Regions from separate parts of the Homo sapiens genome. Here regions 1 and 2 are each linked to region 3. Evidence: promoter capture Hi-C in 16 types of primary human blood cells and fetal thymus (Javierre and others, 2016). All regions are on one chromosome and are shown on one strand. Each heading gives the region's core, a stretch centred on a gene start or on the middle of the fragment in contact. The rest is flanking DNA. Distances are from core to core; before and after follow the strand shown. Region 1 holds the start of ZNF416 (zinc finger protein 416). Region 2 holds the start of ZNF530 (zinc finger protein 530). Region 3 holds the start of ZNF567 (zinc finger protein 567).

What was found. Contacts are between HindIII fragments. The CHiCAGO score rates a contact against its expected background, and 5 or more counts as called.
Region 1: a contact is called between a fragment that was not itself captured here and the fragment with the promoter of ZNF567 in region 3, in 2 of 17 cell types (non-activated CD4 T cells and activated CD4 T cells). The highest score is 11.2, in non-activated CD4 T cells.
Region 2: a contact is called between the fragment with the promoter of ZNF530 here and the fragment with the promoter of ZNF567 in region 3, in 1 of 17 cell types (non-activated CD4 T cells). The highest score is 7.7, in non-activated CD4 T cells.

What each region holds. Positions count from the first base shown.
Region 1 is chr19:57,578,845-57,581,767 of GRCh38, reverse strand. It overlaps ZNF416 (zinc finger protein 416), which reads left to right and starts at 2,857. Exons shown (of 4, transcript NM_017879.3): 1 at 2,857-2,923. The HindIII fragment of the contact is 1,043 bases long and covers 946-1,988 here.
Region 2 is chr19:57,598,539-57,601,570 of GRCh38, reverse strand. It overlaps ZNF530 (zinc finger protein 530), which reads right to left and starts at 1,686. Exons shown (of 4, transcript NM_001321981.2): 1 at 1,437-1,686; 2 at 792-843. RefSeq lists enhancers at 1,219-1,338, 1,429-1,638. The HindIII fragment of the contact is 5,329 bases long and covers 1-3,032 here.
Region 3 is chr19:36,686,082-36,689,247 of GRCh38, reverse strand. ZNF567 (zinc finger protein 567) reads right to left here and starts at 1,636. Exons shown (of 6, transcript NM_001322917.1): 1 at 1,614-1,636. ZNF567-DT (ZNF567 divergent transcript) reads left to right here and starts at 1,799. Exons shown (of 4, transcript NR_110708.1): 1 at 1,799-1,980; 2 at 2,442-2,562. RefSeq lists enhancers at 580-1,219, 1,780-1,829 and a silencer at 1,520-1,579. The HindIII fragment of the contact is 4,431 bases long and covers 1-2,155 here.

The sequences.
Region 1 (2,923 bases), core at 218-2,717, about 21 Mb before region 3:
GGTTGTTTTGTGTTTTCTTTCTGTGTTTGTCTATTTGGCACAGCTATTCAAGTATAGCTTGGCAGCGTCATTCATATAGTCCACTAACTTCGATTACTGTTCACCCAGTTAATCCCAAGGGATTCCGCAGGTGTGGGGAGTGTTGACCTCAAGGACCATGACATCTAGCAAGGGACTGAAGATAGTGGAGGCCAGCTCCATCTGCAGGTAGAACATTCCAGAGGGCCCAGGTTTAGCTCCATCCTGTCTTTATTTTTTTGATTTCTTATCTTTAGTCTTTAGGGGTACATAGTAGGTGTATATATTTATGAGTTATATGGTGTAGTTTGATACAGGCACACAGTGTGTAATAATCACATTGGGATAAATGGTATTCATCACCTCAAGCATTTATCATTTCTTTGTGTTATAAGCATTCCAGTTATACTCTTAGTCACGTTTAATTCTTTTTTTTTTTTTTTTTTTTTGAGACGAAGTCTTGCTCTGTTGCCCAGGCTGGAGTGCAGTGGCGCGATCTCAGCTCTCTGCAAGCAACGCCTCCCGGGTTAACGCCATTCTCCTGCCTCAGCCTCCTTAGTAGCTGGGACTACAGGTGACCACCACCACGCCCGGCTAATTTTTTGTATTTTTAGAGATTTATTATAGAGATTTGATTTTAGAGATGGGGTTTCACCGTGTTAGTCAGGATGGTCTCGATCTCCTGACCTTGTGATCTGCCCGCCTCGGCCTCCCAAAGTGCTGGGATTACAGGCGTGAGCCACCATGCCCGGTGAGTTATGTTTAATTCTACAATAGATTGTTGTTGACTGTAGTCACCTTGTTGTGCTATCAAATACTATGTCTTATTCCTTCTATCTGACTATATTTTTGCACCCATTAACTATCCCCACTTTCCCTTCCATTTCTGCTATCCTTCTCAGCCTCTGGTAGCCATCCTTCTAAGCTTAATCTCCGGGAGTTCAATTGTTTAAATTTTTAGCTCCCACAAATAAGTGAGAACATGTGAAGTTTGTCTTTCTGTGCCTGGCTTATTTTACTTAACATAATTTCCTCCAATTTCACCCGTCTTCTTGCAATTGATGGGATCTCATTCTTTTTTTATGGCTAAATACTACTCCATTGTGTATATGCATCACATTTTCTTTATCCATTTATCTATGGACAGTTAGGTAGCTTCCAAATCTTGGCTGTTGTGAATAGTGATGCAATAAACATGGGAGTGCAGATCTCTATTAGATATACTGATTTCTTTTCTGGGTGGTGTAAACTGTATCATATGGTAATTCTATTTTTACTTCTGTGGGGAACCTCCAAACTGTTCCCCATAGTGGCTTTACTAATTTACACTCCCACCAACAGCGTATGAAGTTTCCCTTTCCTCTCTGTCCTGGCCAGCATTCATTATTCCCTGTCTTTTGCATAAAAGTCATTTTAACTAGAGTGAGATGATATCTCATTGTAGTTTTGATTTGCATTTTTATAGTGATCAATGATGTTAAGCATGTTTTCATCTACCTGCTTGCCATTTATCTGTCTTTTAAAATTTTTAGTTTTATGAGTACATAGTATGTATGTATATTTATGGGATACGTGAGATATTGTGATACAGGCATACAATGTGTAATAATCATATCAGGGTACACAAGCATTTATCATTTCTTTGTGTTACAAACATTCTAGTTATAATACTCTTTTAGTTGTTTTTAATGTACAATAAATTACTGTTGACTGTAGTCTCTCTACTGTGCTATCAAATACTAGATCTTATTCATTCTACCCTGTCTTAAGGAGGCCTTGGTAGCCATGCTGAGGTTATGGGGTGCTGCTTCCAAAACCAAAAGTATTATGGGCAGCTGGTATGAAGGATCATAGGCTTATGGTCTGTGAGATCCTGTATGTTTAAGAAAGCCCAGTCTTATTGCCAGTAATTACTGTTTTAATGGTGTATAGCATGAGGCTGAAAGAGACAGTTTCCTGCATTGGAAGCTTTTACTCAACAAATGGCCGTTGTATGTGGTTCAGAGATTCCAAGAGGCATGAGAAGTGTAAACCAAAAATAAAATTCCCAGCCCCCCAACCATCTGAATGCATCCTTCCTCTTGGCCAAGGGCATTCCAAAGTTAATCTGAAAAACTAGTTCAGGACGTGATGGGAAGTGAGGGTCAGACTTGCCCTCCTCCCCTTGGAATTCAGGCACAACTGACCAGCATTAACATTAAAACAGAGATTTTAAGACTTCTTGTAGCAATAAGACAGTGAATTCCAGCCTGATTGTAGTATAGCATTACATGACAGATAGCAGGCCCTGAAAGGAATTGAAGTATTTTACTCTAAACTTTATTTATTTGACATATTTTGAAGAGGCCCTGCAAAGGTGTGTCTTGTGGAATCTGCATTTTGCTGAGAATCCCCTTTCCTCTCCAGGGTTTTTTTATTTTCATGGTCCAGGAAAGAATTAAGAGTCTGGCACCTTTCAAAGTCTGATAGGAAACATTTACAATCTATTCCCTCTGAAGCCTGCTGCGTGAAAGCTTCATCTGCTTAATAAGAACCTTGGTCTCTACAACCTCTTATCTTAACCCAGACACTCCCTTCAGTGGGTATGGGACTGCGGAAATCGGCCAGCGGCCCCTTTAAGGAGCAGCAAGTCCCTGTCTCGCTCTTGGTGTCGCGCCTTTTCCTAGCGCCCTCCGCGGGCCGCTTAGCCCTTGTTCCGGGTGAATCTCAGGGAGGGCACCGGAACCCTGGGCTTCTGAGAACTACATTACCCATAATGCCGAGCGCCAAGCTGCAAAGACGCGGAGCCAATCAACGTTCAGGAACGGACCTGTCTCCGTTTGTTGCATACGGTAAGGCGGGACTTCCGGCACCGCTCCGAGATGGTAATTTTGGTGGTTCTCTACCTCGGCCCACGCCGCCTGAG
Region 2 (3,032 bases), core at 437-2,936, about 21 Mb before region 3:
AGCCACTTGATATAGCTACTTACTTATTCTCTAAAACATCTCATATTTTTAACATGGACAAAACACATTCCTGATGTCCTGAGTGAAAAACAATTCTACTATCTACTTGGCTCTCCCAGTAGATGGAGCTTCTATGCTTCCAGCTACTAAACTCAAAAAGCCTTGAGTCACCCCTTCTTATCTCTCAGTCCCAATACCAGAAAATCAGAGCCGACCTACAATCCAAAATTCAACCATTTCTGCCACACTGTGGCCACTACTCTGGCCCACATCATCTACACTCACCTGGACTATTGCAGTAGTCTCCTCTTTCCTCTTTGGTATTGCTACCAACTCCCTTAAACCCACAGTCTGTTGTCTGTGCTCAGCCACAGGAGCCTCATGAGGCCTGGGGAAGATCACCTCCCTCTTCTGCTCCAAATCTTCATTGCTGCCATCATCTCCAGAACAAAGACATCTGAGACAGCCATTTAGTTTCTAACTCCTGTACCTCTGCTCTCTGTTCCCATGAGAAGGAAATGAGACTTGAGGTTCTCTTAACCAGCTCAGCCTCACCTCCAAGCAGCTCCAAACACCTGTACTTATCTCTGGGACAAACTTCCACATTCATCCTATTATTTGCCAGCAACAGGCACCACCTCATATAATACTCACCCTGGACATATTTTTGTTCAGAGTCCCTAGGCTCAAGGCCTGGAAAAGCGGTAAGTAAAGAATCCCAGGTCACCACAGTCCCAATCCTAGAGATCCCATTGCTGGAATCAATGAGCTTCTGGATTTCCTCCACTTACCCTTGTAGGGTCTTCAAGTGCTTCTTACGGACCTGTAAGTACTAGTGGCAATCTGTGGGAGGAAACATGTTCTGAGAGGCAGGTGACCAAAGTGTGGCTCCATGGACTTCTGGTTCCAATGTGGAACACCAGAGCCAGGTGTCCAGGGATGACTGCTTTGTATCTGGGTGTCAGTCCTTGGTGCTGACTTTTACCAGCTTTGTGACCTCGTAAAAAGACTAGGTCCCTCCATGCCTGCTATCATCACTGCCCTTCCAGCGCGTTCCTCTGAACAGCTTTTGTGAAACTTTTAGAAGCGTGACTGGGGCCGTGCCCCTCTTCTGTCCTACGCGCTGTGGCCCTCAGTGTGCTGGTGAAACTCAGTGGGGCCAATGCAGCGCGGCGCTGCCCCACCCTCTGCTACCTGCACGCGTGAGGCCGGCCTGGGTCTCCCCAGCCTCCCGGCTCAGGCGCAGCTCCAAGCTGTTGCCCGCGCAGCCCCCTGACCGTGTCGCTCTCCCGCTCCCTGCCACACTACCAGAAACGAGATCCAGCACCAGCGCCTCACTGTGCCGGACAGTGCGGTCCGGGCTGCAGAAAACCCTTCACGCGTCCCTCAGTTTCGGGTGGGGAGGGCAGAGGAGGCCGGGAGGACGCAGCGCTCACCTGGGTCGGGGCCCTCAGTGCCGCCGCCATCGGACTCTGGGCGGAGCGGGCCGGGAGCGGTGGACGATCCGGGCGGAGACAAGAGCAAAGCTGTCACCACCGCCGGCGACCGTCAGGCCCCGGCTGTGCAGCTGAGAAAACGACTCTCCTCGCGCCTTCTCGCTGTCAGCACCTAGGTCCAGATCCGGCACCCGCGGATGGAACTGACACAAGCCAAAGTGCCCGCCACAGGGAGGACGCCGGAAGTTCCGCTCCGACAAGTTGGACAGAGCGGAAATGTCCCTCCCCTGAGCCTCATTGGCTCCACGCCAAGAACCTGGCTCACGGGCCTCTGGGTAATGTAGTTCTCACCGCTTCTTGGGCTGGCAGAGGTCGCCCTTCTCCTGGACCTCAGGGAGGAATGACCCCGTTGCTATGGAGAAAGGTGGAGGGGAAGGCTGAGAGGTGGTGTCTCCAGCCTCCTTGGACAAGGGAGGAGCTTCGCTGCTTTTTTAAGGTACCATACAGAGATTTTTGGAGGGTATTGTGTACAACTAGTCACCTAGGTAGTCAGAGTTATTCAGATACAAAATGCCTCTACCCTTGGCGAGAGCCTAGTAAACATTACCTTCTTTCTCCACACATTTATGTAAAGTAGAACGTTAGAGTCAGCTTTGTGAGTTTCATTATGCTCAGTAAGGAATAAGGGAAATAGAGTTTACATAGCGCCATGACAGGAATGATAAAACATCCGTTAGATCGCACCGAAGCTGGAGGACGAAAGAGGAATTTTGTCTCACAGAAAATGCCTCTCCTGCCTGTGTAATCGGTGAGTGTGTCTAGCCCTGTAAGGAACAGTGTTGTATTCATATAATATTTCTTCCTCCATATTCTTAGATATGCTTCTTTTAGGATTGTAGCAACTTTCTAAACAGAAGAGCCACTTAGCATATGCCATTTTAAAGTAGAACAGTGTCTGTAGTGTTCACAGTCAGAGCACTTGTGCAAAGGGGACATCAGAATACCAGAATAAAGGTTTGGGACACCTAGCTTTCATCTCTTTGATGGGAAATTTTGATCATTGATACTGTTACTGCAGGGACAGTGCTTGCATGGGGAGTTGAGATCATCTTAGAAAAACAGTTGTGAAATGAAAATTACTGAAACCTATTGTATTAGTCAGGATTCTCCAGAGAAACACAGAACCAATAGGATACATAGATGTACAAGAGGGGATTTATTATGGGACTTGGCTCATCCAGTTATGGAGGCTAAGAAGTCCCAGGATATACCTTTTGCAACCTGGTAAGACACGAAGGTGGGTGGTATCATTCAGTCTGCATCTGAAGGCCTGAAAACCAAGGGAGCCTATGGTGAAATTCCCAGTTGGAGGCTGAAGGCCTGAGAACTGGGTGAGGGTCATTCTTGTATGTTCCAGAGTCCAAAGGCCCAAGATCCAAGAACTTTAATGTTGGAAAACAGAAGGTGGATGATCCAGGGCAAGAAGAGAGTAACTTGCTCTTTCTCTGCCTTTTTGTTCTATCTTGGCTCTCAAAGCATTGGATGTTGGCCCCTAACACTGATGAGGCCAGATCTCCTTTACATTGTCTACAGACT
Region 3 (3,166 bases), core at 387-2,886:
CACACACACACTCTCAAATAGGAATTTTGAGAGTGGCAGTTATGAGATAAAGTTTTTTTCTGTGTGGTCCCAGTGGTATTCTATTCATTTAAGCATATCAGTCATCAGTCAATACCAGGTTTCCCAATAAATGATCTTTTTTGGAAGGGAAGGGACGGAGTCTCGTTCTGTCGCCCAGGCTGGAGTGCAGTGGCGCGATCTTGGCTCACTGCAACTTCCACCTCCGAGTTCAAGCGATTCCCCTGCCTCAGCTCCCGAGTAGCTGGGGCTACAGGCATGCGCCATCATGCCCAGCTAATTTTTATATTTTTTAGTAGAGACGGGGTTTCACCATGCTGGTCAAACTCCTGACCTCAGGTGATCTGTCCGCCCCAGCCTCCCAAAGTGCTGGGATTGCAGGCGTGAGCCACCGCGCATGGGCCCAATCTTTTTTTTTTTTTTGAGACGGAGTCTTGCTCTGCCACCCAGGCTGGATTGCAGTGGCACGATCTCGGCTCACTGCAAGCTCCGCCTCCCGGGTTCACGCCATTCTCCTGACTCAGCCTCCCAAGTAGCTGGGACTACAGGCGCCCGCCACCACGCCCGGTTAATTTTTTGTATTTTTAGTAGAGACGGGGTTTCACCATGTTAACCAGGATGTTCTCGATCTCCTGACGTCGTGATCGGCCCGCCTCAGCCTTCCAAAGTGCTGGGATTACAGGCGTGAGCCACCGCGCCCGGCCCGCATGGGCCCAATCTTACCCTCTGAAAATTATTTTGCCTCTTCCTCTCCATTAAAAAAAAAAAATCACTACTTATTTTACTTGTCTAATTACCAGAGTCAAATTCTACAGGCATATATAAAATGCCCAATACTCATAAATCAATCTAAACAATGCATACTTTAGTCAACACTCGGTTTCTCAAGCACTCCACCTAAGTCACACAGTGTGCCACATTCACAGTCATCATAGGTCGTGTACACCAAATACTTTTAAAATTAGGCATATTCATAGCTGTATCACCCACTACATAGTCATAATCCCATAGGCCCCCACGTCGTGCACAATTTCACAGAACTTCTACAAAAAGTAACAACCTTTCACTCACAATGCCCTCACTGTCGCCTCTCCAGAGTCGGACACAGGCTCAAACACAAATCGACTCGCATCTAATTTAAATTAAAACTTAAGACACGCAGGGACCCTATCACTTTCATAAACAACCGGTTCCACAACGTCACACAGAATAACACATTCCCCTACCACAACACACAGGACAGGTACGAAAAGCCACACACACACACACGGAGCGCCTGTTGTGTGCCAGGCCGTGCTCCAGGAGCCAGGGGACGAAAATCAGACGAAATTCCTGCCACTGGGGAGCTCACCCCCCGCCTCGGGCAACCGGTTCCCTTCTTCAGGTGCTCCCGGGCCCGCGCTCTGGTTCCTGCTTCCCTCCCAGCCTTCTCTGAGGCCCGGACTCGCACTTTCCTCCAGCCAACTCCTCGTCCCAGGTTGCTCCTCTTCCCTTCTTGCTTTCCCCAGCCCAGGCTCCCGCCTCCCTCCTCAGCCTTCCTTACGGGTCACACCGTCACCCGCCTTCTCCGCGCCCGCGGGACCCACCAGCCTCACCTTCGGTTGCCGGCCGGGCGTCTGCGCATGCGCACTCCCACGCGGACGATGCCTCCCAGGTGTCTCCGCGGCGCGTTCCTGCTGTCCACCGGCTACGCGCGCCTTCTCCACATCCGGGCGTTTCCGGCCTTGGACTACATTTCCCACAGGCGCCCGGGCGGTTTTCGAACTTTGATCTCTGGTTCCCCTTCCAAATTCTCATAGTGCGTGGCTGGGATGAGGGCGGCGCTCACGGTGAGGAAGCCCCGAGCTCCCGGGACGCAGACAGGGTGTGCAGGGCCGTAGCTCGGGCCTGTGTATGCACCTGTGCGTGTGTGTTTGATGCCAGGACAAGGCGGCGGTGTGCGCGGCGAGGAGGCTGCGACAGGTGCGTGATTGTGTTCCTGTCCCTGCTCGGATGCGGGACCTTTGGGTGGCCGTGGTCGGCTGTCGGGTGTGTGACACTGTAGGGTTTGAGACCTTCCATCATGACAGTGCTGCTGTGGCCGTGTGATGGAAGAGCCTTTTAGGTCTGTGGTGTTGTGTGTGTAACGGGTAAAGCTTCATTTCTGCAGTGCTGTGTTTAATGTTGGGACTGAGGGGTCTGTCGAAGATCTCCCCAATGTGCCTGTGAGGACTATGATCCATGCCTATGTTAAGCAGAGTCATCTTGCAATGAAGCATGGCCCGCGTTGTCTTCTCAGGGCACACCTGTCCCCAGTTCTCAGCCTGGTGTTTGACACAGGGGATCCTGGCGGAGTGCCCACCTAAGCGGCAGTTTTAGACTCGATTGTTTCTTGGGCTCTGCATCTCTGAGTTCCCAGCTTCCTTTTTTCTCCCGCTTTATAGCTGTATAGACCCCAGCTGCAGTGAAATGGCCATCAAAAAGGGAAGGGATAATCGAGTGGTGGAATAAAATCTGCAAACAGAAAAAGGACAGACCTGTTTTCGGAACGAGGCTTTTCGAGTTGTAAGTGTCCCTTAAGCAGAGTTCTGGGAAGACGTCGTGGGGAGAACCTAGGAGTAGGATTCCTTCCTCAGAGGCTCTCCCTTGGGAACTCTCAGAGGTCAGGTTCCATGTGATCCACATCATTCCCAGAGCTGTCTCCGCAGGAGACTTAACGTGAATTTTGAGAAAGTCCCCAGTCCTGGATATCAGTGACCCTGGCCTTTCCCTTGAATACTAAGAAGGGTTAGCAGTACTCCCATCTCCCTTTTACTTCCATCTGAGTATGTTTATGGTAGATGATGAGAGCTCGTGTGGTGGCAATAATTTTTTCCAATTTAGCCAATCTGGGTTCCAAGAAAGGTCTGATGTCTCATGATTCCTTACCCCTTCTCCCTTGCCTTGAGGTTCTCTAAGAGCCCTGAGGAAAGGGAACCATTGCTGAGCATATCTGAAAACCAAGGTCAAGGAAGTTTTGTTGTATTTTCTATTTTTGTTCTCTTTGATTTTGTTTTTCAGCAAGGGAGTATTTTTTCTCCTCCTGAAATGCTAGTCAGTGGTTAGGTTACTATTAGGCAGGGCCTTGTGAGGTGCTTTGACCAATAGAATGTGGTGGAAGTGATATTGT